7 separate regions of the Homo sapiens genome follow, and regions 1, 2, 3, 4, 5 and 6 are each linked to region 7. The links are contacts of gene promoters, found by promoter capture Hi-C in blood cells and fetal thymus (Javierre and others, 2016). All regions are on one chromosome and are shown on one strand. Each heading gives the region's core, a stretch centred on a gene start or on the middle of the fragment in contact. The rest is flanking DNA. Distances are from core to core; before and after follow the strand shown.

Evidence for each region. The method cuts DNA at HindIII sites, captures the fragments that hold promoters and counts their contacts. A CHiCAGO score of 5 or more calls a contact.
Region 1: a contact is called between a fragment that was not itself captured here and the fragment with the promoter of LSMEM1 in region 7, in 1 of 17 cell types (M1 macrophages). The highest score is 5.3, in M1 macrophages.
Region 2: a fragment that was not itself captured here is called in contact with the fragment with the promoter of LSMEM1 in region 7 in 2 of 17 cell types (fetal thymus and naive CD8 T cells); the score reaches 6.8 in fetal thymus.
Region 3: a fragment that was not itself captured here is called in contact with the fragment with the promoter of LSMEM1 in region 7 in 1 of 17 cell types (neutrophils); the score reaches 5.3 in neutrophils.
Region 4: a fragment that was not itself captured here is called in contact with the fragment with the promoter of LSMEM1 in region 7 in 3 of 17 cell types (total CD8 T cells, non-activated CD4 T cells and total B cells); the score reaches 5.7 in total CD8 T cells.
Region 5: a contact is called between a fragment that was not itself captured here and the fragment with the promoter of LSMEM1 in region 7, in 1 of 17 cell types (fetal thymus). The highest score is 7.0, in fetal thymus.
Region 6: a contact is called between a fragment that was not itself captured here and the fragment with the promoter of LSMEM1 in region 7, in 6 of 17 cell types (fetal thymus, naive CD4 T cells, activated CD4 T cells and 3 more). The highest score is 11.5, in fetal thymus.

What each region holds. Positions count from the first base shown.
Region 1 is chr7:111,818,640-111,822,609 of GRCh38, forward strand. DOCK4 (dedicator of cytokinesis 4) reads right to left here. Exons shown (of 53, transcript NM_001363540.2): 27 at 3,723-3,817. It overlaps DOCK4-AS1 (DOCK4 antisense RNA 1), which reads left to right. Exons shown (of 2, transcript NR_103806.1): 2 at 739-3,140. Among named protein-coding and RNA genes, the nearest start is that of DOCK4-AS1, 12 kb to the left of the region's middle. The HindIII fragment of the contact is 1,358 bases long and covers 670-2,027 here.
Region 2 is chr7:111,787,472-111,791,443 of GRCh38, forward strand. DOCK4 (dedicator of cytokinesis 4) reads right to left here. Exons shown (of 53, transcript NM_001363540.2): 31 at 2,986-3,134; 32 at 1,191-1,276. Among named protein-coding and RNA genes, the nearest start is that of DOCK4-AS1, 19 kb to the right of the region's middle. The HindIII fragment of the contact is 3,023 bases long and covers 99-3,121 here.
Region 3 is chr7:111,833,974-111,837,784 of GRCh38, forward strand. DOCK4 (dedicator of cytokinesis 4) reads right to left here. Exons shown (of 53, transcript NM_001363540.2): 26 at 615-713. Among named protein-coding and RNA genes, the nearest start is that of DOCK4-AS1, 27 kb to the left of the region's middle. The HindIII fragment of the contact is 2,306 bases long and covers 1,079-3,384 here.
Region 4 is chr7:113,424,232-113,428,270 of GRCh38, forward strand. No RefSeq gene overlaps it. Among named protein-coding and RNA genes, the nearest start is that of SMIM30, 310 kb to the left of the region's middle. The HindIII fragment of the contact is 179 bases long and covers 1,187-1,365 here.
Region 5 is chr7:111,851,628-111,855,583 of GRCh38, forward strand. The region is part of intron 23 of DOCK4 (dedicator of cytokinesis 4); the gene reads right to left. Among named protein-coding and RNA genes, the nearest start is that of DOCK4-AS1, 45 kb to the left of the region's middle. The HindIII fragment of the contact is 622 bases long and covers 954-1,575 here.
Region 6 is chr7:111,768,571-111,772,743 of GRCh38, forward strand. It overlaps DOCK4 (dedicator of cytokinesis 4), which reads right to left. Exons shown (of 53, transcript NM_001363540.2): 37 at 959-1,107. Among named protein-coding and RNA genes, the nearest start is that of DOCK4-AS1, 38 kb to the right of the region's middle. The HindIII fragment of the contact is 1,621 bases long and covers 817-2,437 here.
Region 7 is chr7:112,479,072-112,483,088 of GRCh38, forward strand. LSMEM1 (leucine rich single-pass membrane protein 1) reads left to right here and starts at 1,920. Exons shown (of 4, transcript NM_182597.3): 1 at 1,920-2,275. The HindIII fragment of the contact is 7,612 bases long and covers 1-4,017 here.

The sequences.
Region 1 (3,970 bases), core at 99-2,598, 660 kb before region 7:
TTCTCCCTGGTTTCTCTTTGGTCTCTCCACATATCAATATCTGGGTTCTGTCTTCCTCCACCAACCTCATCTTTACTGGTTCCTTCCCTCCCCACATTTCAGCCACACTAACAGTCTTTCAGTTCCTTGAGTGTGCCACATTTACTCTGGCCACAGGGCCTTTGTAGATGCTACCTACTGATAGAATCATTATTCCTTTGCTGTTTGTTACCCCCTGCTAAGCTTTCAGTTCAAGCTTCACTCCTTCATGAAAGACCCCTCCTATTCTAGTCCAGAACAATGTTCACTTCATAACACCCTCATATCACGGTGCTCTTTGTCTTTATAGTACTTATTTTACACATCAGGCACTGGAAAATACTGGCTGAATAAGTGGGTCAGTAAATGAATGGACAACCTCTCTAAGAAACTTTGATTTAACAAATCGCTTTTTGGCTACATAGATCTCATTTGAAACCCAAGTTGGTTAGTGCATGATATGTTTGAGGCCAACATGCACACAAGATAACCAAAATAAAGACCTGAAATTTCAACTGAAGAGAGAAGGAGTTTTTACCTTCCTCAGTAAGCAAGTGTGTTATAAGGTTTTTCTTCTTGAAAATATGTATAAAGCTGTGACTTTATTTTTGTACTTTATTTCACAATGTGTATGGGAAGGGGGTGGAGAGAAGCTTGTCTCAAAGTGTCCTGTATTTTTGGTACTTAATTTTCATCTTCCTTATGTTCCTTCTTTCTTAGATTGAGCAGTTGTTGTCATCAGAAACATCTACCAGGAACTTACAGGGGGTCATGAGATAGCTCTACAGCAAACAAGAAAGAGAAGAAATGCTTCTTGCCCTGGCAGAATTATAAGTGGGCACACTTGCTATGTTATACAATATTAGGCATGCAGTAGAAAAAAACAAGGAACCATACAAATCACCAGGTGTCTGGTCACAAACTCTGGCAGAGCTTCACACCAAGCAGGCAAGCTACAAGATTTGGAACAACACAGCTTATAGATGAAAGTTAAAGGCATTTAATTTACTTGAAAACAGAGGAAGAAAGGACCAACACATAAAAGAACATTCATTTTGAGGGATGAGCAATTCAATTGAGTTCAAGGGTAGAGCAATGGTGACTTCTCAGCCACCTGCTATCAATTTGACATGTATTAAGCACACGACTGGGTTAATAAAAGTGGGAGTTTGGGTTAAAATGCCCTTTGAGAGGCCCTGAAAAAATGTTTGTCTAAGAAAGTTGAAACTATGGAAGAAAAGGTGGTCAACTTCAGAGACATAGATGTAACTCCTGCAACGTGCTTCAACATGGTTTAGCCAAGCGGAAACTTTTTCTTCCTAGTGTATGCTCTTTAACGTATTTAAGATGTCCTTAACATCTTTCAGAAATCTACTTTTCTACCAATATTATATGGGTTAATATTTTTCATAGATAAAGCACAAATAGTAGAGGGCTAATTTTCAGACTATGCTGCATTTATGAAGCAAAGCAAACCTCATCTGCTTTCATGACTTGAATGGAGGAGAATGGTTAGAGACTATTAAAAGAGGAGAGGAGAGGAAAGAAGAGGCAAGAGCAAGAACATACAGCAGACTGGCTGCTCCAACTTGGCAGTGGTCTCTCTAGTTCCTGGAGTCCTGTCCATGAATGAGGTTGGACTTGCAGCCACCAGCCATTGCCAGTGGAGAGGCAGCGCCAGACTCCTACCAGCACTCACATGGGTGGCAATGGAATGAAGTCACCACATTTAGCAAAGGGTGATGGCACATTTCTTGGGTTTGCTATGGGAGTAACCTTCTGTTTAAATGTATTACACAGAGCTCATCTCTAACAAAATCATCTTCCTATTTGGTTAACACTGTAAATGAAAATTCTGAACAGTGTGTGTTTACGCAAAGGTAGAATCTATACTCTCAGACTGCTATCCATTTGTGTGACCATAAAGTCTTTAAAACTGAAGTAACGATGGGGCAGAGAGAGGCAGTATTTAATATCAAAAAGCCACATGGTTGTTACAATTTTAGGCAAGCTTAAGCAGAAATTGTATATGTAAGGAATAAAATGTCAATGTTACTTTCAGTTTGAATTTCTACCACTGAAATTTTAATTCAATCCAAAATATTCCTCTGCACATGAGTCAGGCAGAATGACCAAATGTTGATGCTGCGTGATGATGATGTCCATAGCCTGGACCTCTTCCCATCTGGCTCCTTGGATTACCTCACAGCCCTTCCTAGGTACCCAGAATGTTTGCTCTTTGGTTATAAGGCCAGATGAATGAGCAAAAACTCCCACCTAAATCTGTAGCATGCGGACAACCAAATGAATAGATATTTGATTCTACTCACAGATATCAAACTAAATATGTTAAATTCTAAAGAGAGCTATTTCAACACTCTCAATCTTCAAAATGGAAAAGCTGCTTCTGTACTTATGTAAAATATAATATGCTATGTTATACTATTTGTTACTTCACAAAGTTTTTAACACATCATTTTAACACCTCCAAGTCTATAAATGTATACTGCAGCAGAAGCCATATTGAGCATATATAATCAAAATCGAATCCTATATTCCTGCAGCTCTCACCACCATCAAAGCTTGCCATCTGGAGAAAACACAGGGCGACCGTGGCCTACAGATAGATGCTTAGAGAATCCAACCTTCATCCTGAGCATGAGGGTGTTGGCGTTTGGAAAAGAGGAAGAAGGGGAAGCAGGCAAATGTGGGCTTGGAGAGTGACAATGCTAATGAAATAGGGTAAATAACAAGCTTGGAAGTGAAGACCAGGCCAGTTTCCTAGAACACTTTTCCATTCTGTATCTTGAGACTATGGAGACAGGAAGTGGAGAGAGCAGATAAATCCATGACACTGTACTCTCCGGGATCAGCTCCTGCCATTCCGACTGCCCTAATATCCTTTCCTGCCTCCTCTCTCTTCTAGTATTGCTCTCAGATCATGCTGGATATGCTTAATATAAACTGAATTTATCATCTTCTAGAGATTCCAATATCGACTTTATGTCAATAACCTCCCAAATGCCTGTATTTTGTTCTGAAGTTTCCTCGGGGCAGTATTTTCAGCTCTCTATTGGCCATACCACTTGGATGAATAAAAAGAACGTCAATCTCCATGTGTCCAACTCAAAGGTCATGTCTTATTCCCAGTGTTGAGCAGATGCTTCATGTATGTATTTTGTTGAGAAGAATTAAGAAAGATCAGAAATGATTCAAATTTCTAGTAACAGAGAATTGGTTAAATAAACTATGGTATGGTCATTCAATGCAATATTATTCAGCTGTAAAGGAAAATACACAGAAGAATGAAAGGCTTTCTATCTATTAATTTGGAAAGATTGCCAGGATTTCTTAAGAGCATTATACAGAACAGTGTGTATATTACATTACCTGCTGGTCTCTGTATAAAGGAACACTAGGAGGACATGTAAGAAACAAATACAAGTGGTTATACAGCCTAGGGGAAGAGGGTCAATGGGAACAGAACTTCTCAATGCATATGCTATTATGTTGTTCGATTTCTGAATGATGTTAATATATACAAAGGAAATAGTAATTCTAAACAAGTGGTAACATTTTTTTAAAGGCTTAATTCAGAGGCAAAAAAAAAACTGCAAACTTGAGATCAAATGAAAAAGATAATTTTGTACTCCCTTCTTCCTCTATACATTGAGCTGCAATTATCATCAACTTAAATGTCTTACTTGTTAGCAACCAAGCGCATAACAGTCCAGTCCTTTGGAAACATCTCCGGGCGTATCAATATTCGGAACACAGTAAATATCTGCAGCAGGAAATCCTTGGATAAGGAGAAAATAGATCATTTTATTGGTTTATTGTAACTGTCAACATACATACGCACATACACAGGCAGTACTGTTGTACTGTTACCATTTCCAAAGCAATTATAGAGAAGGGAGCCATAGTTTAACAGTTTGCCCAAGGGAAGGAG
Region 2 (3,972 bases), core at 360-2,859, 690 kb before region 7:
TCAGAATCCAGTACAAAGAATATATTTTATCACCCACCACTACCACAGGAAATCTCTATACCCTTCTTGGCTTTTCCTTTTAATGTAATTTTCTTAAAAGCTTCAAGATAATTTTTAATCAGGCATGCTGAAATCTATCTAACCTATTAGTCACTAATTATATTCTTCAAGCCTATATATTAATGTTTCTACTGTTGTAAATTCATGATCATAAAGTTTTGGACCTGGCCATCAATACTAAAGCACTGATATTTAGTTTTAGGTGATACTTGGGCATAAATACAAACACGAATATATTTTGTCATAGAAAAAAATGTGTTACTGCATTATTTTGCACTTCTGAAAGAACTGCAAACATTTTTCAAGCACAATAAGCAAATTCTTCTTTCAAAAAGAAATACTTTGCACATATGTTAGATTTGAAAATGACTAAGATCCATAGGAAGCTGTAGAGAAAACAAGTGCCAGAAGTGAAATCCCAAAGCACTAAAACATTCTCACTGTATCTTCTGGCCATTTAAACACAACGCATGAATACTTGGTACAAGCAATTCATCCTGTGGCTATGATCAGATTCTATGGGTAGGGCAACCTTAAAGTCTCTTTACAGCATTCCATTATTTCTCTATCTTCCATACAAATCCAAAACACAGAATTTACTAAAAGTGATTTGCTTCTGAGATATTCTAATAAAAAGCATTTAGGAAGCAATTAATGCTGAGCGAACAATCAGTATTAATTAATTAAATCAGGTGTTGAAGAACAGATGCAAACTAGGTTAATTTTCCAACAGCAAATCAGCATCAGTATCTTGCTTTGGAAAGCAGTGCACACAAACATTACAATCACACCCCTTTTCTCCTCTCCCACTTATAACCCCACTTAAAATCATTATCTTGCAGGAATGGTTTTAAAATTATCAGGCATGAAAAGAGGGAGATTTGTTATGTAACATATGCAACCTGTCCTAATCAGAGATTAAAACAGGAAGACATGCCTAATCATCAACATTATAAGATCCATTCGCCAGAGTTAGGCAATTATCCTTTATTTCACACTCCACAAAGACAAAGCCCTCCTGTGAGACCTAAGCTGTCTTTGCAGCTCTCAGCTACCGTGGTGCAGAGAGGCTCAGTACTGACACCAAATCCCCCAGAATGGAATCAACTTGAGATAAACATATTACTCACATACTGTTGAAGAGCTCGCGGTATGTTTCGTCACCTTTGCCTTCTGACATCAGGCTATCCAGTTTGTCAATTAGCTTGGCTTCCACCTGAAACATACCCAACTATTATTCTCTTTCCTCCCCTTCACAAGTAGGATTTCTAGGCAAGTTAAAACGTATTTCTTTGTGCCAAGGAAAAAGCCATGGTAAATTTTGTGAAAGTGACATTATCAGCTACGGTTAATAGCAGGCAACCCTTTGGAATTCTAAGGGACTAATCTAGATAGAGTTACATGACTTCACACTCCTGGCTGGGTAGCGTTTACTGCTGCCAAAGACATCTATCTATTTGTTGATTCAAACACAAATGCTTGCAGCCCAGTTTAAACGTTTGAATTCTTTTTTAGGAGCTAAAAAACTGGCAAGTCCTGTTTCTTTTTTCTTTTTTTTAAACATCACTATATATAAGGACATCAGGAAACTAACATATCCACATACATTAATTTAAATCTTTGATGTGTTTTATATCTATTTTCTTTCTCAAAACAGTTTGAGGTTGCACTAAATCTTTGCTGAAGTTGAGAACTTGCCTTACCCACGTACAGATGGTAGATCCATAGCAATAGTCTAAGTCAGCAATAAGCAGCAAGAGAGAGAAAGGACATATTTCCTGAAAACTGTAGTCAAAACATTTATATTTTCCAGGATGTAAATCCTTTGGAACTTGAATATCAGGAATGGAAAAATATCCCTTTATCTATGTCTATCTGAGGCAGAAGAGACAGAAAATGAAAAACTTCTCTATGGCCAGAGAGAGTTAAAACGATTAGGGACTGGGAGGAATATTTGACTTTGTCAAAAGACTAAGCCCAATTATTATTCCTTTAAACCAAATTTCAATCAAGAGATAAAGACAAGGGGGAAGGAAAGTGGGTTTTTCTTTCCTAAGTACAATTTTTAAATAGTCTTTCATTCATCTATTAGCTTTCTTGAAAATAAATGTGTATACCGATACAGGTGAAACACCCATGCTTTTGGCAATAGGAGGGTTCCATGTCTGCAGTCAGATTGCTTGACTGGTTGACAACCATTCCTGAGATTTGAGGGAGGCTTCTTCTGGAGAAACATGAGGAAGGGTCAAACCCTGTGGGCACACAGGTTTGTGCCATGACTGTGTGAACAGACAGTAGGCCTACTATCTCCAAATTGAAGGACCTGGCAGAGCAAAAGCAGTGAATTCCTTCAGAGATCTGGTTTTGTAATAAGCCTGTTTTCCCAAAACTGGAGTATAACTATTAGAACCTATGTCAATGAGAAATGGTAAGCTCATTCCCTTGGAATTTCCTCTGTAAGAATTTCCACAGCTTTCTCCTTTAAATTAATTCTCAATGCTTCAAGCAAAGAGCAATAAAACATACTGTAAATCAAATGCTCAAAGCTAAGCCATTTGCCAAATACAATGTGCAGACCACTGAGAGCTCAATGAGTTTAATCATTAACTCTCTGATTCTTCTGCTCTGTGTCCAACTGGGTGCAAATAAAGTCTCTGCAAGTTCTTAAATACAGATCTGGGAAATCACAAAATTTTTCAGCTGAAAAGGAATCAAATGGTTTTCAGGGCTTCACTGAAGGCTCAGGACAACACAGGATCTGAGAAGTATCCACGGCTGTGTGGCTTGGGAGTGGATAGGCCAGGCTGGAATCTAGGTCTGCTGACCCAGTGTTCATTTCCCAAGTTGGAGTTGAATCCAGAAGTTCACAGATGCTTCAGGAGAGCTGAAACTCTTCCAACTCTTCTGAGGAGCACTTCTGCCTACCTGTTTAAAGTTGCCACTCCGCCTCTGCTCCCAGTCCATCATATCATGAAAAATTGGAATCATGACATTCCGAAGATCTGGCTGGGGTATCAAGGTCACTTCTAGGAAGGGGCCAATCAGGGCAGGGATAAAATGAAGCTTGTGCTCTCCTAAAGTGAGAAAAATATTTGAGTTTCAATATATTCAATCTTAATATGATTTCAGAAATTAATATCATAAAATTTGTTTAAAACTATTGCTAGAAATATATTCAATTATAGTCGTCTCCTCAAGCAAGAAAATATAATAACCCATGAGATACAATTAAAAATTATATAAATCGGCTGGGTGCAGTGGCTCACGCCTGTAATCCCAGCACTTTGGGAGGCTGAGGCTGCAGATCACGAGGTCAGGAGATCGAGACCATCCTGGCTAACACGGTGAAACCCCATCTCTACTAAAAATACAAACAATTAGCCGGGCGGGGTGGTGGGTGCCTGTAGTCCCAGCTACTTGGGAGGCTGAGGCAGGAGAATGGCATGAACCCGGGAGGCGGAGCTTGCAGTGAGCCAAGATCGTGCCACTGCACTCTAGCCTGGGTGACAGAGCAAGACTCTGTCTCAAAAAAAAAAAATTATATATATATATATATATATATATATATAAAATAAATCATCAGGAATTGGTTATGTACATTATTGTATATGCACACATTAAAATTTTTATGTGATCATTTAACATAAGGCTGAAGAAAGATAACATAGGTGAAGTTTTTCAATATAATTAAGCAAAAAAGCAAGTGCAATACAGTATGTATAGGAATATTTTTAATTTAAAAAATACACACACACACACACACACACACACACATATATCTTAGTCTAGAGTATTATATCCCTAATGTTAACCACAGAGGTTATCTCTGGATGGTGAGATTACGGGTGATTTTTTTATATGAAAAAAGGTGGCTAGGTGGTTCTTATCTCTATGATATAATTTTTCTCGAGT
Region 3 (3,811 bases), core at 982-3,481, 640 kb before region 7:
TTCCTCCAACTAAGAATAATCAAGCATTTAGTGAAACCATGAAGGATGCATTACAGTTCTGTGAATCTCAGCAAATACTGGATTTTTATAAACCTGGCATCCTTATTTCCTATTTAATGTCAGCTTGTCAGAGTAGCACAGCATATTGATTAGACTATAGCTGATAGAGAATATCAAATACAACTCTGTATCCCTAGTCAAAAAGTTGTAGCCAGAACTTCTCATTATGGTTTTAGTGAGATGAAATGAGTGAACATATTTACATATTCTCTTTTATCTTCTATTAAGGCAATGTTTCTAGGTTCACGTAGTTAATCTATTTGTTTTTATCTCTTCAGTTCTGTTATTCTGCTTCTAGTTTATTGAACTTTGATGACAGGTACTTCACATCCTATATCCTTCTCTGAAATGAGAGTTAATAGCTTTGCTTGAGTAATAGAAATCTTTAAAAGCCAATATAGATGAGCAGATCTGTGGATGAGGCTGAGAAAAACAGCTTAGAACTTAATGGAAACAGGTAAAGCAATTGTCTAGGATTTATCTCAACAGTGATGAATAAAAACAAGATAAACCCAAAAGATATGTTAAAGAAAACATTTTAAAATGTCACTTACCCTTAGTTCTTCCTTTGTATTAAAACTATCAAGAAGCTGTTGATAATGTCTATCTGTCATTTGTCGTAATAGGGACAGGAGACAAGCAACAAACTCCCCCTAAGTTAAAAAAAAAAAAAGCATACATTTTATTTTTAGTAAGGACGTAAAAGAACATCAGTAACTTACACTGAACTGTCCTCAAAGAGAATAGGTTAAAATGAAATCACGATGATCCAAACTTGCCCTGTGAAGTCTTCTTAATATAAATTATCCAAAATGTCACAGCCAAAACTCCCTATGATGATTACCATTTATTTACTTGGTATTCACAAATTTATAATTTTAGGGAGGATTTTTTTTTTTAACTTGAGTGGAAGCTTTTCACTTGGGAACTAACTTCACACATTTAAAGAAGGTAAGGCACCGAGGGTTTATGATCATTTACTGAGCATTTAACATGTCTGTAATAATTCTAACATTTAAGCTTCATATCAACACTATGAGGTAGGGGGTATAATACCTTTTTGAAGAAGGTAAAATGTAGTTTCTGATGTGCTAAATGACTTGCCCCAAGTCACTCAGCTAGAAAGTAGCAGAGCTGGCATTATCCCCAGTCTTTCTGCCTCCAAAGCCCTTCCTGTAGCTTCATGCTCCATTTTTGAATTCAAATGACCTCCTCCAACTCATCAGAGAGTTGATCTGCTGACTCACAGGGTATAATGAATGCCATATGTTGCATAATGTTCATTTCAATCTCCTTTTAAAAAATAGTTTTATTCAGATGTCTTGGAAGATTGAAAACAATTTTTTTAATTGGCCATTCTTTTTGTGCTTGGGCTCTATGTGATTTGTAACCATAAATTCTAATTCTTAAAAATTAACAATAAAAAAGTAAACATAGCATCTATGGATTTGAAGACCTACATAAAATTGCTATCACTTGCATTTTTGAATGAACTTCTAATTTAAAATGCTTGCATTTTCAATGCAACCTTTTGTGCTCAGCAAAGAATTTATCTACTTTTAAACAGAGTAATAACATTTAAAACAAAACAAATACAATAGGAGAGGCAATCACTGGTAACTAACTGTATATTTACAGAAGTGCAATTTAATTGGGAACTGGTTTCTTAGATTTTACATGGAAAGAGACTACAGACTTTATAAGTAGAGACTAAAAGCCCTGAGAAGGGAATTTTTCAACAGAAGCAGCTGGGTGAGGAAAATTCAATGTATCCTCGCCCACTGCCATGGGAGACCCAAGGATGCTATAATACTTAAAGACCATGTCAAGGCAACCAGGTACTCAGGCTAGATCTCTGTTTGCAGATAATCATTTGCAACACACAGGTATGACAAATAATTATCTATATACATTTTTTAGGGTAAATATTCAAGAAACTAACCAGTGTGGGCCAGAAGAAACATCCTTCAAGCTCAACATATACTTTGTTAATGAACATGGGAATCCTTGATATTTAACAAAAGAAATAAAAAGTTTAAAGGCAATATTATTAATATTTTTGTATATGTGTGTAAGGTAGTAACCCAACCCAACACTAGGAAAAGAATGATCTAGAAGGATTGAGAGAACAGTGCCTTGTGCTCACACAGGACTGGGAATAATAGAGCCTTTTTTTTTTTTTAATACCAGCCAGACTGGAAAAACCTCACAATTAATAAGGCATTAGTTAGAGTACCAAAAACAGTGTTTCCTTAGTACTGGAGAAAAACTACTCCTAGAGTAATGCTGTTCTGGTCCTACCTCACAAATTTCAAAAGCAAGACCTAAAATGATCAAATAGTTTCCAATAAATTTAACCTCACTCTATAGCAAAGCTCAGATATTTTTTAGAAATTAAAAAAATCCACCTGTCAACAATGTAAAATTCACAATAACTGGCATGCAATGAAAAATCACCAGGCAGGTCAAGAAGAAGGAAAAAATGACGCAAATGAGGAGAAAAAGTAATATATCAATAGAAACAGATCCAGAAATGACATAGATAATAGAATTACCACACAAGAACATTAACATAGTTATATTACTGTATTCTAATTTTTCAGGAAGCTAGAGGAAAGACTGAATATGTTAATTTAGAGACATGGAAGACATAAAAAGAGCCCAAATTAAACTTCTAGAGATGAAGGCTACAATTTGTGAGATGAATATTAATTGAATGGGTCGAGTGGCAGATTAGACACTGCAGAAGAAAAGATTATTGAACTTGAAAGGTAGGGCAGTAGAAATTCTCCAAAATAAAGCATAGACAGAAAAAACTGAAATAAAAAGAAAAACAGAAAAAAGCATCAGTGAACTGGAGGACAACTTCAAGTAGCAGAATATCTATGTAACTGAAAGTCTCAGAGAGAAGGAAGAGACAGAAAAAATAATTGAAGAAATGAGAAAAAAACTTTTTCAAACTCTTTGAAAATTATAAACCTGTATATCAAAAAATCTCCACAAACCCCAAGCACAAGAAACAAGAAGAAAATTACACCAAGGCACATCATAATCAAATTGCTTATAGCCAGTGGTAGAGAAAATCTTAAAACACTATTCAGAAAAAAAAGGGGCACATTACATAGAGAAGAACAAAGACAAAGATGAGAAAAGATTTCTCTTGGAAAGAACACAAGCTGAAAGACAACGGAGCAACAGCTTCAGAGAACTAAAAGGAAAAAAAACCCCAAAAACTATTAACCAAGAAAAATATCTTCCAAAATATAAAATATAAAAATATCTTCCAAAAGCAAAGACAAAATAAAGACTTTTCAAACCTCCCAAAGCTTATTCACCACCTCTATTCAACATTGTACTGAAGGTTTTAGTCAGTGCAATAAGGCAAGAAAAGGCAATCAGGAATACAGGTTTGAAAGGAATTTTTAAAAAGCTGTCTTTCTTCACAGAAAGCGTAGCTGTGTATATAGAAAAAGCTATGAAATTGATAAAGAGCTACTGGAACTAATTGAGTTTATTTACATTCCAAAATATAAGATCAATGTACAAAAATAAATTTTACTTCTACACACTAAAAATGAACAATCAGAAATTGAAATTTAAAATAATATCATTAAAATATGAAATAATTACTGATCTATTTGACAAAAGATGTATAAAATCTGCACACTGAAGGCTGCAAAACACTGAGGGGTGGAGTTAAATACTTAAAAAAAATGAAGATATTACATGTTCATGGATTGGGAAATGCAAT
Region 4 (4,039 bases), core at 26-2,525, 940 kb after region 7:
TGTTTCCGATCTCAAACTGTAAACGAGTATCCTTTAGTGCCACATTTTTTTTCACATTTTTTGCATTTTGTTAATGATTTCTCTGTTTAAAATGGCTCCCAAGCATGGTGCTGAAGTGCTGTTTAATGTTCCTAAGCACGAGAAGGCTGGGATGTGCCTTATGCAGAAAATGTATGTTAGATACGCTTTATTCAGGAATGATTTATAGTGATGTTGGCCATGAGTTCACTGGTAATAAATTAACAATAAATATTAAATATGATGTCTTTAAACAGAAACACACATAAAACAAGGTTATGTATTAATCAGTTGATAAGAAATGTTGTTCCCAGATGCTCGCAAAAGCTTATCTCTGTATTTTTCCAAGGAAAATAACACTAAATTTCCTCTAGGAGCAATGACTCAGTATTTGCTAATTCTGTGTTCATGGTCACTTTATAAAGCACAACTACTGCAAATATCAAGAACTGAACTGTATACACATAGAAGTCTCCTTCAAATTCAAGGATTTTATGAAGTCATGAGGCCTATTCAAGTATGTTAGATAAAAGCCCTTGATGAAAAATGAATATACTAAATATATTAAGAGCTATCTTACATAAGTAATGGTTTCTCTCAATGAGCTTTTTATAATGGTTATGGGCTCTAAAGTCAAACTGCCAGGGTTCAAACCTTGCCTCTATGACTTTCTAGCGGGCGAGCCTGGGCAGGTTTCTTAATCCAAACTTCCTCATCTGCAAAATAGGGAAATTAAGGAAAGGGATTAGAACATCAAAGAGTACATATGACATTACTAATATTTTTGATTGATTGATTATTAACCAGATACATACAAGAATAATTAGAATTTCTGTTACTTATCAGGGAGGGGGTTAGAGAACAGTGGGCAGCAGATACAAGACAAACAAATACTATTTTTAGACCTCAATGAGTATAAGGTTTCTCAATTAAACTGTCTACTATTCAGCTCCTCATGGTTCTGTTCACAAATGAGTTTGGTGAGAACTAATAACTGAAAGACTAGCCCACAGGGAAGTCAACTTTTTATTCCCAAACTTTGGGCTAAAAATAATAAGACAAAATAGTTGGGCTTTAAAATGAAGGGAAAGAGATTAGCAATTAATGAGATTAAAATATTAAAATGAAAGTTAAAAGACTAAGATAAAAGGCATAAGTAAAGGCAAGAAGCTTAGAGATTATAAGAGGAAAAAAGAAAAGCAAAAGGAAAATGCACTAAAAGCAAATAAGGGATGTGCCCAAAACAAAGCTCAAGGTATGTCCAGTTTCCACAAGGGTTGGGTCCCTTGTAACAGTGGGGCCAACTACAACTCTGATAAACAATTCTTTAGGGATCTACTGTAACAAAGCTTAGGACCACTCAGTTCAAACAACTGGAGGGATTTAGGACAAGCAGCAATTTGTCTAAGCTAAGTAGAACATACTGATAAAATAAATATGATAGTAAAATAATTCTGACGTACTAAAAAACTTCAAGTTTAAGGACCTCTAGCTTTGTTTTTTAACATTGTCTTGGTTATTTTTGGCCCCTTATTCTTTAAAATAAAGTGCAAAAAATTAATTCATCAATTTCCACTGAGAGTGTTTGGAATTTAATCTATTGATTGAATTTGATCTATAGATCAGCTTGATGGTAATTGGTATCTTTACAGAAGTCTTTAAATACGTGAACATAGTATATGTCTCCATTTATTTAGGACTTTAAATTTCCTCCATCATGTTTTGCAGTTTTCGTTATAGAGATCTTACAACTCTTTTTTGTTAGATTTGTTTTTAGGTATTTGATGTTTATGCATACTCTTATAAATAGTATTGCTTTAAAATTTCGTTTTATGTTTGTTTATGGCTGGTACAGCATGCCCCGCATAAAGACAGTTTAATCAACAATAGACCACATTATAAGGCAGTAGTTCCATAAGCGTACGATGGCGGTGGCTCATACCTATAATCCCAGTGCTTTGGAAGGCCAAGGTGGGAGGATTCCTTGAGGCCAGGAGTTTGAAACCAGCCTGGACAATATAGCGAGACCCTGTCTCTGCATAATAATAATAAAGATTATAATAAAGCTGAAAAAATCCTATTGTCTAGTAATGTCACAGCAGTCATAACACCATAGTGCAATGCATTACTAATATATTTGTGGTGATACTGATTTAAACAAACCTACTATGCTGCCAGCCATATAAAAGTATTATGTACAGTATATAATACTGATGATGATAATAAACAACTATGTTACTGGTTTATATGTTTATTATATTATAGTTGTTATTGTTATTTTAGAATGTACCTCTTCTATTTATTTTTTTAAAGCTAACTGTAAAACTGCCTCAGGCAAGTCCTTCAGAAGGTATTTCAGAAGGCATTATTGTCATAGGAGATGACAGCTCCTTTCGTGTTATTGCCCCTGAAGACCTTCCAGTGGAACAAGATGTAGAAACAGAGGACAGTGATATTGATGATCCTGACTCTGTGCATCTTAGTTTGTAATAAAAAAGTTTTAAAAGTTTTTTTAAAATTAAAAGTTTTAAAATTAGAAAAAGCTTATCTGATAAGAATGTAAAGACAGAAAATATTTTTGTGCAGTTGTACAATGTGTTTGTGTTTTAAGCTATATGTTACTATGAAAGAGTCAAACAGTTTTAAAAAATGATTTAAAAGCTTATAAAGTAAAAAGTTGTAGTAAGCTAAGGTTAATTTATCATTGAAGAAAGAACAAATTTTAATAAATGTAATGCAGCCTAAGTATACAGTGTTTATAAAGCCTTCAGCAGTGTACAGTAATGTCCTGAGCCTTCACATTCACTCATCACTCACTCAGTGACCCACCCAGAGCAATTTCCAGCCCTGCAAGCTCCATTCATGGTAAGTGCTCTATACAGGAGACCATTTTTATCTTTTATACCATATTTTTACTGTGTTCTTTCTATGCTTAGATATACAAATACTTATCATTTTGTTATAATTGCCTATAGTATTCAGTATAGTAGTTTGCTATACAGGTTTGTAGCCTAGGAGCAAAAGGTTATTCCATATAGTCTGGGTGTGTAGTAAATAGGCTATACTATCTAGGTTTATGTAAGTATACTCCATGATGTTTGCACAATGATGAAATTGCCTAATGGAATACTTCATAGAACATATCCCAGTTGATTGATAAGTGATGCATAACTGTATAGAGAATAAAACAGTTGACAATAAATAGTAATTGTCATGTTTCCAGTTTCGGGGAAAACTTTCAATATTTCAGCATTAAGTACATTACATATATTGAAATTAGGTATGTTTGTACATCAAAAGACACCCTTAAAGAGGGAAAGAGCAGTCACACAATGGAAGATATTTTAAATAAATAGCTATAGCAAAGGACTTGTATTCAAAATATATAAAGAACTCCTTTAAGTTCATAAAAGTCAGACAACTTAATTTAAAATAGGCAAATATTTGAGCAAATACTTTACAAAAGAGAGTATCTAAGAAGCCAAAAAACATGTGAGAAGATGAGTACATTTATAAGTCATCAAGGAAATAGAAATTAAAACCACAATGTAATACCACTACATACAAACTAGAAAGGCTAAAATGAAAATTACTGACAACATCACATATTGTTGAGTATGTGGAGTAGGTAGAAATCTCACGCACAGCTGATGGGAGTATAAATGGTAAAACTACTTTAGAAAACTATTTGACAGCATCTATTAAAACTCAACACACACGTATTCTCTGTCCCAACAATAATATACTCAACAGAAATACTTAACTATTATTATTAAAATACATGCACAAGAATGTTCATCAAAAACTGAAAAATGGCTCAAATGTCTATCAAGAGTAGAAATGAATGAATAAATATATAACTATTATATATTATAATACACTATAAAACAATGAGAAGAAGAAGTTATTGCTAGAGGAATAGCTTTGAACTTGGTGAAATACACACTGTAGGCTTCTATTTACATGCAATTCCAAAAAATAGACAAAAGTAATCGATGCCATTAGAAGTCAAGGTGGAGAA
Region 5 (3,956 bases), core at 15-2,514, 630 kb before region 7:
CCTATTTGTTGCCTTCTTTCTACTTGAGGACCCAAGAATTAGACTGCTTAGATTAGAGTTCCAGTTCCGTGAAATACTAGCCTCAGTCTTTTCATCTGTAAAACGAGGCTAGCAATGGTAACTCCTCCTGGGATTGTTTTACGGATCATATTAGCTAGCAGTGCTTGGAATGCAATGAGTGCTATGTAAGTGTTATTCTCCTTTCTTCCTCTTTCAATTTTATCCTATATCTATAGATAAAAGTGATTCTGTATGCTACTAAAAGTGATAAGGAGTGCAAATAAAGCATCCACAACTGTGAAAGTGCCTCTCTCTCTCTCTCTCTCCTTCCTTTTTTTTTTTTTTTTTTTTCTTGAGACAGAGTCTCACTCTGTCATCCAGGCTGGAGTGCAATGGCACGATCTCGGCTCACTGCAACTTCCGCCTCCTGGGTTCAGTGATTCTCCTGTCTCAGCCTCCTGAGTAGCTGGGATTACAGGCATTCGCCGCCATGCCCGGCTAATGTTTTGTATTTTTAGTAGAGACGGGGTTTCACCATATTCCCCAGGCTGGTCTTGAACTCCTCCGCTCAGGCAATTCATCCTTCTTGGCCTTCCAAAGTGCTAGGATTACAGGCGTGAGCCACCATACTCAGCCGGAGTCTCCTATTTCTTTTGATGCCTGCCACTGGGTTACCAAAATAACCAGGTCTGGCCTCAGGTTTAGCATCAAAACAGACAACATAAGGCACAGGCATTCTATACATTAAGAAAACAAATACAGAATATTCAAATCCAAACTTGTAAAATAATTCATTGCAAGCCTTCTTTAAACAGTAAGCCTCACCAGGGAACTTAAATACTTATTTACAAATCAATTACTTAACAAAAAGAACCAGAAAAAAAAAAAAAAACCCTGAAAATTTAAGTGCCAGTAGTCATTGCCTAGTAATGTTTAATTAGAAAGGAAGATAAAGCTTATCTGATATGTTCCTTCAGCTAGGGGGATTTGATTTCTAAAAATTCAATTTGCAGCCAATTGTTAAGAAAATATCAACTGCAAAAAAGTAAGTAAGGTGGACAAATAATTTGTGTGTGGCATGTATACAAAGAAATACATAACAACCCAGCTTGCAGATTTGCTTTTTCTCCATTACTTGGGCAATGCCAGCCAGTGCAATTGATAGACTGGGTGGGTAAATGCCAAACAAGCTGACTGGTTGATATGCTAATTCTTACCTTTAAAAGAAAACAACCAGGCCCATCAAATAAGACCCCCCATAAAACAATCCAAGTTGAACATTCACTAACTTTCCATGCATTTAACAACAGAATCTGCCGTGCAGGTTCTCTCCTTGAGAGGGCCGATACACTCATATTCCACATCTCAGATAAAGCTCACTGTGTTGTATGTCTCCTTGAGTGTATAAGGAGTGACTCTCATTTACTTTTTTGGTCTACACTTGAGTGGATATACAGCCAGCTCCCATCAGTAATCCCCACTGGACACGGGACTAGGAAGGAACAAGGGAAGCTGGGTAGATTTCCTCCTTTAGGTTAATTTTGAGGAGTCATACTTTTGCCTCCTCTATCAACAAGCTTTAGACAGGGATCCTTGAAGTCAGCATCAGTCACCAAGAGCGCGAGGTCTGTGAGTTCCATGGCAGCACACAAGGGTTGGCCGTTACATTCCACAAACTGGGCTCTAGCATGGGCTGGACGTGGGCACTGCTGAGGGGCGGCCTCAGTACGGGGAGATTGTAAACAAGGGAGGCAGAAGGACATGTGGCAGCACAGCTTTGCATGTAGCAGAGCTGCTGACTACAGAAAGCCTGACATCAGAGCTGGGATGGGCCTCTGTGATCAAAGCCACCAGGAATTGAACTGCCAAAGTCAGAGCCAGTCGCAAAACCTGCAAACAAGCCTTTCAGACACTGGAATACAGACAACAAGAACTCAGAGAGGAAAGGACTGCAGATTCAGTGGGCTACGTTCTCATGCAGACAATGTCAGGATCACAGAGGAAAGCAACAGTGGAGGGCTACGGATGATCCCTGTATTAAGCTCCCAGATCCCACCCACTGGCTTTAATCCCACCCTGAATGCCTCCACCTCAGGCATCCTTCCTAAAGCAAGACACATGTACTGTGTACATCTTACTTTTGGTAGTTACGCCACCTCCTGGCCTGGGACTCCTACATAGCCACCCTGCCACACACTGTTTTATTGTCATATTCATGCTCATCCTGAGCTCAAAAAGTTGCTTTTCCAATAAGATTTTTTTAAATACACATCATTTATTCAGTAGCTTTTTGTTGTTGTTGTTGTTTGGTTTTTTTTTTGCTTTAGATGGAGTCTTGCTCTGTTGCCCAGGCTGGAGTGCAGTGGCATGATCTCGGCTCACTGCAACCTCCTCACAGGTGCAAGTGATTCTCCTGCCTCAGCCTCGGGACTAGCTGGGGCTTCAGGTGCAGTCCACTGCACCTGGCTAATTTTTATATTTTTAGTAAGGGAGGAGACCACCCCTCATATTGTCTTATGCCCAATTTCTGCCTCCAAAGAAAGAAGAAATGAAAATTAAAAGGCAGAAATGAAATTCACAGGCAGACAGCCTGGTGCCACACCCTGGGCCTGGTAGTTAAAGATCAACCCCTGACCTAATCGGTTATGTTATCTATAGATTACAGACATTGTATGGAAAAGCACTGTGAAAATCCCTGTCCTGTTCTGTTCCATTCTAATTACCAGTGCATGCAGCCCCCTGCCTGCTCAATCGATCACGACCCTCTCACACGGACCCCCTTAGAGTTGTAACCCTCAAGAGGGACAGGAATTGCTCACTCGGGGAGCTCAGTTTTTGAGACGTGGGTCTTGCCGATGCTCCCAGCCGAATAAAGCCCTTCCTTCTTTAACTCGGTGTCTGAGGAGTTCTGTCTGTGGCTCATCTTGCTACATTAGTAGAGACAGGGTTCCACCATGTTGGCCAGGCTAGTCTCAAACTCCTGACCTCAGGTGATCCACCTGCCTTGGCCTCCCAAAGTGCTGGGATTACAGGCGTGAGCGACCGCACCCAGCTATTCAGTAGCTTTTGCTACTGTATCCCGATCCCTAACCCATGATTCAGTCAGTACCTAGTGTTCATGAAACATCTATTAAGCACCTACTTTGCACCAGGCACTATTAGGGAAGCTAAAGATATCATTGTGATCAAGGCAAATAAAGTCCCTGGCCTCTGGGGTTTCCCTTCTGGGGTGGAGGAGGGAAACAGACGTTAATCAATGAAATACCCAATTCTCTATTTCATTATAATTGTGCTAGGTGATTCAAGAAGCAAAACACAGTGTACTATAAAAGTGATAATTGAGTGGGTGGGGCACCAAAATTTCTTGAGAAAATGAGAGACTAAACCATGAAGGATAAATGGGAATTAACTCTGTTGGGCAGGAGCTGAAGAAAGTGGATTCCAAACAGAGAAAAGTAGCAAGGAGATGAGATGAGGCAGGTGGACGGGGCCACATCACAGGGCATGGAAGATCAATTCTGGAGAGTGCCCCCCAATAAAACAGAACTGGGATGTGAGTAGGAGCTGGGAGTGACATCATCTGGTATGTTTCTGAAGGTAACTTTGGCTAATAGATGGGTGGTGAAAGGAAATACAGGAAACAAGGAGAGAAAAGACAGAGGCAGCTCAGAGCAAGTGCAGCTGGACTAGAGAGGAGGCAGTGGGGGTGTGGAGAAGCTACAGAGGCACGTGAGGTTTCTTGGCCACAGACAGAGACAAAGGGCAAAAGGGAGAAGGAATGACTCTGAGGCTTCTAGGTGGATGGTGCTGCCACCTACTGAGCCAGGAAAGACTAAGCTCAGAGAGAAAAAAGTTGAGATTTTCATTTTAGACATGCTGAGTTTAAGGAGCCTGTGAGATATCCACCAGAGATGTTAAGAGCACAGTTGGATACTCAAGTTTGGAGCTCCGAGGAG
Region 6 (4,173 bases), core at 377-2,876, 710 kb before region 7:
TGGCGGTCAGATTCATGAATTTTTTAAAAGAGTACTACAAGCCCTTGAAGAGGGGTAGGAAGTGGAGGGAGGTGATGTACTGAATTGCTTTATGAAGTCAGTGAGGTTTTTTCAACACCTCAAGGCATCTCTTAAGTATATGATGGGATGCCACAAAATTCTTTAAACAAATTAAGTTTCATATATTTTACCTTAAAGTATAATGGAGCAGAATGCATGCCAATTTCGGGAGAGTGTGAAGGATGATAATGGTTTTTCAGAGAATACAATATCTGCGTGCTATGGTCTGCATGTTTGGGTCTCTGACAAATTCATATGTTGAAATCCTAACCCCCAGGGTAATGGTATTAGGAAATGGGGTCTTTGGAAGTGATTAGGTCATGAGGGTAGAGCCCTCACGAATGGCATTAGTGCCCTTATAAAAGAGGCCCCAGAGAGTTAGCCAGCCCCTTTCACCATGTGAAGATACAGCAAGATGGCCCTCACCAGACACTGTATCTGCCAGGGCCTTGATCTTGAACTTCTCAGCCTTCAGAAATGTGAAAAATAAATTTCTGTTGTTTATAAGCTACCCAGTCTAGGGTATTTTGCTAAAGCCGCCACGAATGGACTATGTTACTGGGGATCAAAATCTCTAAATCGGTGTTTATCAAAGTGTAATGAAAAGGTCATGCACATTGGACTCTCCTAGGGTCCTTGTTAAAATCACAGATTCCCCAGCCTCATGCCAGACAAGGCACGAATCAGAATGGCTCATTCAGAATCAAAATGAATCAGAATGGCTAGGAGTGGCACCTAGGAATCTGCATTTTAACAAGCTTTTGGGTGTTTCTAATATACATTAAGATGTGAGGATCCCTGCTTAAGGAGGTGGGCATTCATAAACTAGAAATGAAAGGGAAAGGGACATCAACACCATCACCCCAGGAGGGACCCCGGGCGGGGCAGGGCCACTTACTTTGCCTCTGTCAAAGTTCTGGATGATGGTGAGGTGCAGGTGCTCTTTGCGCTGCCATTCTGTTTGCATGGGGTAGGTCAGGAACTCCCTGAGGGGCCGATCAGACCATTCCAGTAGCTCGTCATATAAGAGGAGGGTATATGCAGCTTCTGCAAGTCACGTGAGAAGACAATGATTGAGACAGGACCCCAAGCCACATTCCCTCAAATGTGGCCAGTTTCCGACAAACTGGGGAAAAAAAATACTATTTTCTAAATTTCGTGATATAGCAGAAAAATATCCAGAATATATGCAGCAGTAGGGTAATGAACGAGGACTTCCCCTGGATGATGGACTTGGACTAATCAGATCTGTATTTCATCTTTTGTTTCCTGTATTTTCGTTTCTGTTTTTGTCTTTTGTTTTTGTCTTCCCTAAAATGTCTGTATGCTACAGTATAATCAAAATGTGTAAGGATATCATGCTGTTGCTGGTTCAAAGATGTGGGGAGACAGGCCTTTGTTTGCTGAGAGAGTTCACTAGTAAGTTCCTTGGGGACTATGAGCATCCCCCAAAGGGCAGGCTTAGGAAATAAAAAATGGCAAATTCTTTGGGATAATAAAGGGCTGAAAAATCGAAACTGGTGAGGAGGGGGTTCAGAGTGGAGGCAGAATTTACAAGGGGCAAAGAAGCCAGAGAGGAGCTGAGTGAAGACCAAAAAAAAAAAAAAAAAGAAAAAGAAAAAATCTAATAACAGGGTAGGGATTGGAGAGGGTGGAAGTGCTGCATGAGGAGTGGGGGGAGTGTGTGGGTGTGTGGGTGTATTTGTGTGTGTGAGAGAGAAAGAACCGTTGCAGGCTGTGTGATATGACTGCCTTGCCCCAGATGGCCCCACAAATCTTCTGTAAAGAATACTGATATCATTACATGCTTGGCATGGTTGGATTTCCTGCAGAAACAAGGGGTGATTTTCCATATACACATAAGTGGAAAAGGTGACCTATGGATTTAAGTATGGTTGGCAGATAGTGTATTTGACAGGATACTTGCCATTCTGCAGGTCTCTCCTTTTCCTGAATTGTAAATATAGCCCAATAGATCAAGAATAGGAACCAGAATTGTCACTGATAAAGGACTATAATAATTTTTCCTATAATGTCATAATAGCCTACTCAATTACTCAATTGAATAAAATGGACAAATACTTATGTTATTAATCCATTTAACTCCACCTCAGGTTTCTCAAAAGACATAATGATAGCTTTTAAGATGGTATCAATAATGGTAATTCCTTTTCTTCATTTATTTGCCTTTAGGGTAACTACACATAAAGCCCTAAAGTAATATGCTGAGTTATAATGCTATGATGTGGCCATCTCCATGTAAAAAAGATAGTTGCAATAAGAAGGGCCAGGGCCCCTATCACAGGCACTGGTCTTTTTTCTCTTCAATTACCTTTGGTGAGCTTATACAATCTCCTGGTTCAATTATTATTGTGAAAGCTTTCCTAATCCACCAGCAGTCTCTTATCCCCCTCCATTCAGTTTGCACAGTTAGCAATATGAACTTCTTTCAATGCAAATAAATGATCATGGTTAAAACCAGTCCATGACTCTCAGTAGCTCAAACAATAAATTTAGGCCTCCTACAGTGACAGAGAAGGTTGCTCATGATCTGGTTCTTACCAAGCTCTCTATCCACATTTTCTCACTGGGTCTCCATGTAGTACAGGTATGAAAGAGCCCACCTCCATCTCTTTTAAGAAGCTTCAGTAGCTGCTGAGGCTCCAGTCCTCATAGTTGGAGCCCCCGGACCCCATTATCCACTTTCCAGGAATGAGCAAGATGCATTGTGGTCCAGAGGCAGCTGGGCACAAGAAAGCTGCCCGACGGGGACAGTGATGCCTTCTGTTGCATGCACTCTTGCTGGTCTCTTTCTTAATGGGATTGAACGTGAGATGGACAGAGAAAGCAGCCACTAAAGGGTGTCAGTTAACTGGCGGACACAGACACAGAGCTGAATCACCATAACATAGGTAGCCATGGAAGACTACTCTGATTGCACAAGAATTATAATAACCAGATCCTCAGAAGGGTGCTGTTATTTTAACAGGCATCTAGTTTTCTCTGACATCCCTGAGATGATTTCCTGATGTTTAATTCCCCATGTATCATTATAATAAACGCTAAGTATCTAAGGAAACCCTACGCATATTTTTGTTCTTGCATCCACACTCTTTGCTCTTGTCATCCGAACAAGCTGTGCTTCCTCTCACATACCTCTCTGATTCACACCTAAGGGCCTCACAGCTTGTGCCTGCAAGACCTTCTTTCCCCCTTTGCTGAAATAACTCCTACTTTCTCTTAATGACCCAGCTCAGGAGTTACCTTCTTTGTCACTCAAATTTCTTTTGTGTCTCTGTCAGCATGTGACTACTCAGAAAATACCCCAGAGACTAACTGATCATTTCGAAGAATTAGGAAGACTGAGGAATGTCCTTCCCACGGCTGCCCACAGGCAGTGATGACTTCAAGGGCGATGAAAGTCAAATTTACAGAGACAGAAAGTAGAATAGTTGTTGCCAGGGGTAAGAGGAATGGGGAGTTAGTGTTTAATGGGTACAGAGTTTCAGTTTGGGAAGATGAGAAAAGTTCTGCACCTGTAGTCTCAGGTACTCAGGAGGCTGAGGCCAAGAGTTTAAGATCAGCCTTGGTAACACAGTGAGTCCTCGTCTCTAAAAAAATGTATTTTAAAATTAGCTAGGTGTGGTGGCATACGCCTGTAGTCCCAGCTACTTGGGAGGCTGAGTCAGGAGGATCATGTGAGTTCAAGACCAATCTGGGTGATAGAGTGAGACCCCCATCTCAAAAAAAAAGAAAAGTTCTGTCGGTGGATGGTGGTAATGGTAGCACGACAATGTGACTATACTTAATACCACTGAACTGTACACTTAAAAATGGTTAAGATGGTAAATTTTATGTTATGCACAATTAAAAAACAAAAAGAGGCCAGGCACAGTGGTTCATACCTGTAATCCCAGCACTTTGGGAGGCCAAGGCAGGTGCATTGCCTGAGGTCAGTAGTTCGAGACCAGCCTGGCTGACATAGTGAAACCCTGTCTCTACTAAAAATACAAAAAATTAGCTAGCATGGTGGCAGGCACCTGTAATCCCAGCTACTCAGGAGGCTGAGGCAGGTGAATCACTTGAACCCAGGAGATGGAGGTTGCAGTGAGC
Region 7 (4,017 bases), core at 670-3,169:
ATGGGTACTAAATTTCCTGGGAGTGAATTTAGATACCCTGAGATGTAATATATGAAAGAAAAAGCAAATACTTGAGAATGTCCCTAGATTAGACACTTCATGTGAGAATATCTCTTTTTGTGACCCAAAACTCTTTTTTTTTCTTTTGAGATGAAGTTTCGTTTTTGTTGCCCAGGCTGGAGTCCAATGGTATAATCTGCCTCAGCCTCCTGAGTTGCTGGGATTACATGCATGTGCCACCACACCCGGCTAATTTTGTATTTTTAGTAGAGATGGGGTTTCTCCTTGTTGGTCAGGCTGGTCTCGAACTTCCGACCTCAGTTAATCTGCCTGTCTCGGCCTCCCAAAGTGCTGGGAATACAGGCATGAGCCACCGCACTCGGCCCCAAAACTCTTCTTAAAGGTGGTCTTGCAGGTATGTTATAGTTAAAATGAAGTAGGTTGTCTTGCTTTGTTCTTAAGTGGCTTTCCAGAAGTCTAACTGGTCTAAAGGCAGTCTTATCCCCCTCACTGGTGTATAGTTCAATTCAGACTTGAATGCGAGGTATGGGTTTACATCTCATCTCTGCCACTTATAATCAGTGTATCCCTCAACAATTAAATTCCTTAGTCTCCATTTCCTTCCTCCTTCAGGGGAAGTTAATATTCCACAAAGTTAGAAGTTACAGGAGAGGAAAAGTAGTAAACGCCCCAAAATGAGGCAGTTACTTCTATTATATCTTCAAAGGATACATGGCTCAAGGCAGATCAGGTAGTTGGGAGATTTCTTAAAAACAGCATAATAGCTAACATGAACATTTTCATTATTCAGAGAAATTTGACATAGCTTTTTAACGTATGTTTCTGAGAAAAGTTACTAGTTATATTGTCTTCCTCCAAGAATTAGTCTTTGGGTACAGATGAGGCTTGAAAAAATGACATTCCCTCTTAGACTAGGTAGTGTGAAGGGAAAAAAAAAATGACATTCCTCTTCCCCCAAAGCAGAGTGAGGTCCGTATGGGATATAGGTGTAAAGAAAATTTTGGGCCGGGCATGGTGGCTCAAGTTTGTAATCCCAGCACTTTGGGAGGCCGAGGTGGGTGGATCACTTGAGGTCAGGAGTTCAAGACTAGCCTGACCAACATGGTGAAACCCCATCTCTACTAAAAATAAAGAAATTAGCCAGCTATGGTGGCACATACCTGTAATCCCAGCTACTTGGGAGGCTGAGGCAGGAGAATCTGGAAGCAGGAAGGTCTCAGTAGGCTGGGATCATGCCACTGCGCTCCAGCCTGGGCAACACAGCAAGACTCTGTCTCAAAGAAAATTTTGTGGAACACCTATTTTCTCACTGACATGAAAAATGTTTCAAAGATGAATAATGTCCATCAAGCTATGGCAATGGAAGTGAGGATGATAAAGGATTGCACAGTTGTTCACAACCTCACTGTTAGTATCCTGCTGAGATAGTTGGTCTCCTCATCACTGTAGCATCTTTTATGTACAGCAGAGGGCAGAAGCTCCTTGGCATGTATGTGAGGGAACCACATATATGGAAGGCTGTTATTCCTGAGAAAGGAGGATGTGCAGACACTCACAGAACAAAGCCTTTGTAAAGGAAAGGCGGCCGATGAGATGGAGTGCTTCCTTCACCTGTGGTGGGTCTGTATCCATGAAATCGCCCACTCACAATCGCTTTTTGTAGCTACTGGAAGCACTAGGCGTCTGACCTGCCATCATCCTTGTTATGATGTCATAATCATATTCTGTCCGTGTTTATTGCAGTTCTCTGGTTTGTCTGGAGTGTTTGCAAGTCAGTCATCATAGTGGCAGCTTCCGCCTGCTACAGGATATTTATATATGGAAGCATACCATGGCAGGAGTGCTGGAAAGGTGGTGTCAGCTAACAGTTGCTTCAGCCAGATAAGGACGGTAACTTCAGTCCAATAAAAACCTCATCAGTTACCAACTAAATCAGGGCATGGTGTTTTTTTGTTGTTTTCTTTTTAAAGCATAGTTTTAGTAATATATTTACTAAAAACCTTAGACATTATGAAAAAAGTCAGGATTTGGAATCTTACACTGCTTGGCTAAATTGACACAATATAGACCAACAGTTTCATCCTGGGGCTTATGGGTCTCATAGGAGCACCCGTATGCTGAAGAAAGGCAAAGAGAGAACTACAGAATTTGTAGAAAAGTTTTGTTGTAGTTGCTTCTGAACAATTAGTTTTTGTTTGTTTGTTTTGTTTTGTTTTGTTTTTCTGGTAACCTAGCAGTCAAAGCTCACATTTTTGTAAGTAATTTGCATGCTATTACTCTACTGAGACTGAATTATGATTCTCGAGTCTGGGAAGTTTTTGTTGCATGTGCTCTGTGTTTTTCATTTTTGATAGAAATGATTTAGACTTGATTTTAAAAATTACTTCCTGAATGTGAAGAGGCATTGACTGGGAAATGAAATTAAAGAACAAATTACCATGACTCATTCAATAACACTGCTTATTAGCTTTGAATTATGCCCTATTATAACAATTCTGATTTTGTGGCAAGCAATACTGGTGTGAGTTATTTCTGTGGTTTGATACCAAGCACCTGCCTGGTTAAAAAATAAAGCACCAGGCAATTTTTCATAGACAATTATCTTTATTTGTTGGAATATTTATTTGTAAATAGTCAAAGAATTCTTAAATGACAAAAAATCAACTGTTAGCAGTGATCTAAACCAGAGGAAAATGAAATTACTTACATGTTTCCAGTCAAGGTATAAGAAAGGGTTCTGTTAAAGGGATGCTGCTTTAGCCAATCTTGGTGAATAAGCAAATTTGCACACTGGAGTTGAAAGGAGGGTCAAGTTAGTGTGATGAAGAATTGCTAGTAACACTGGCTTCTCCAGCCTTGCTGGTTGTTCCTAGATGCCCTCATTTGGAGATGCCAAAGATAGCAACTACTGGGTGTCAAACAGCCGTGGGGCCTGGTTTTAAGGCCATGTGATCTTGTATCCCTTTACTAGCAGCCTCATGAGTCATTTGCAAGTCATTTGCAGGCTCTTGGAGCCCTGGAACAGCACCCAACTCAGTTTTCTCTGCTAGTTCTTTATTTTTCCATTTGCGTGTTGCAGCTCATTAAAAAAATATTGGAATAGCATATATTTACATTGTGACTTCACTCTAAAGAAGACATTTTCTTTCAAAGCACGTCATGGCTCACTAGGTTGTTGTCTTAGTTTTTTTTGGAGTCACCTTTTGAGTAGATAGCAAGACCAGTAATATGGAGATTTTATTAGCTGTACTCTTAAAGTCAGTTTTTGTGGCCATGATTTTCTAGCTAGGTCTCTATTTTGTAAACATTGATTAAGCCTCAGTATGAAATTGAAGCAACAGCAGATACATTCCTGAAGGGGAAGCTAAGGCTCAAGGCTATTAAGTCAGAGATCCAAAAATGAACCATGCTTCAGTTACCACACCTAAAATAGAAGCTGTGTGCAGAACAGTGGTCCTGTGATGTGACACATAAAACTTTTTTTCCTGGTCACATATTACTGTTTGGTCAAATATTAGTATAAATGGATGATAAAATATGAAACACATCTAAAAGAATTGTTTTAAAATCTGTGACTATGCATGAGTGAATATTTTGGGGCCTTGGTTTTAACTGCAAAAGGATAAGATTTGACTGACCTCTAAGGCCCTTTTACTCTATTTGCTGCTGCTTTTTAATTTTTTTTAATTGTCATATCAAGTCATTTCCTTAGGAATGCTCTATGAAGTATATTTGGAATTCAGTAATGTCAATAAAGTGCTATGGTAGTATCTTATCTGAAAACTCAGGGAATTGTTTGTTCTTGTTAATTAAAATTTCAAGATAAGTGAAACACACTTTTTTAGTTTTAACCCTAAAAAAAATTTTTAGTCCATGACTTTTTGAGCTCACTTTCTTAGCTAGGGTTCTGGTAGCACATTTTTCACAAGTACCAGTAGTTTTAGGTATTACTGGGAAATTGTTTTTTTAATATTTTAGACTAAGTTTAAATTGCTC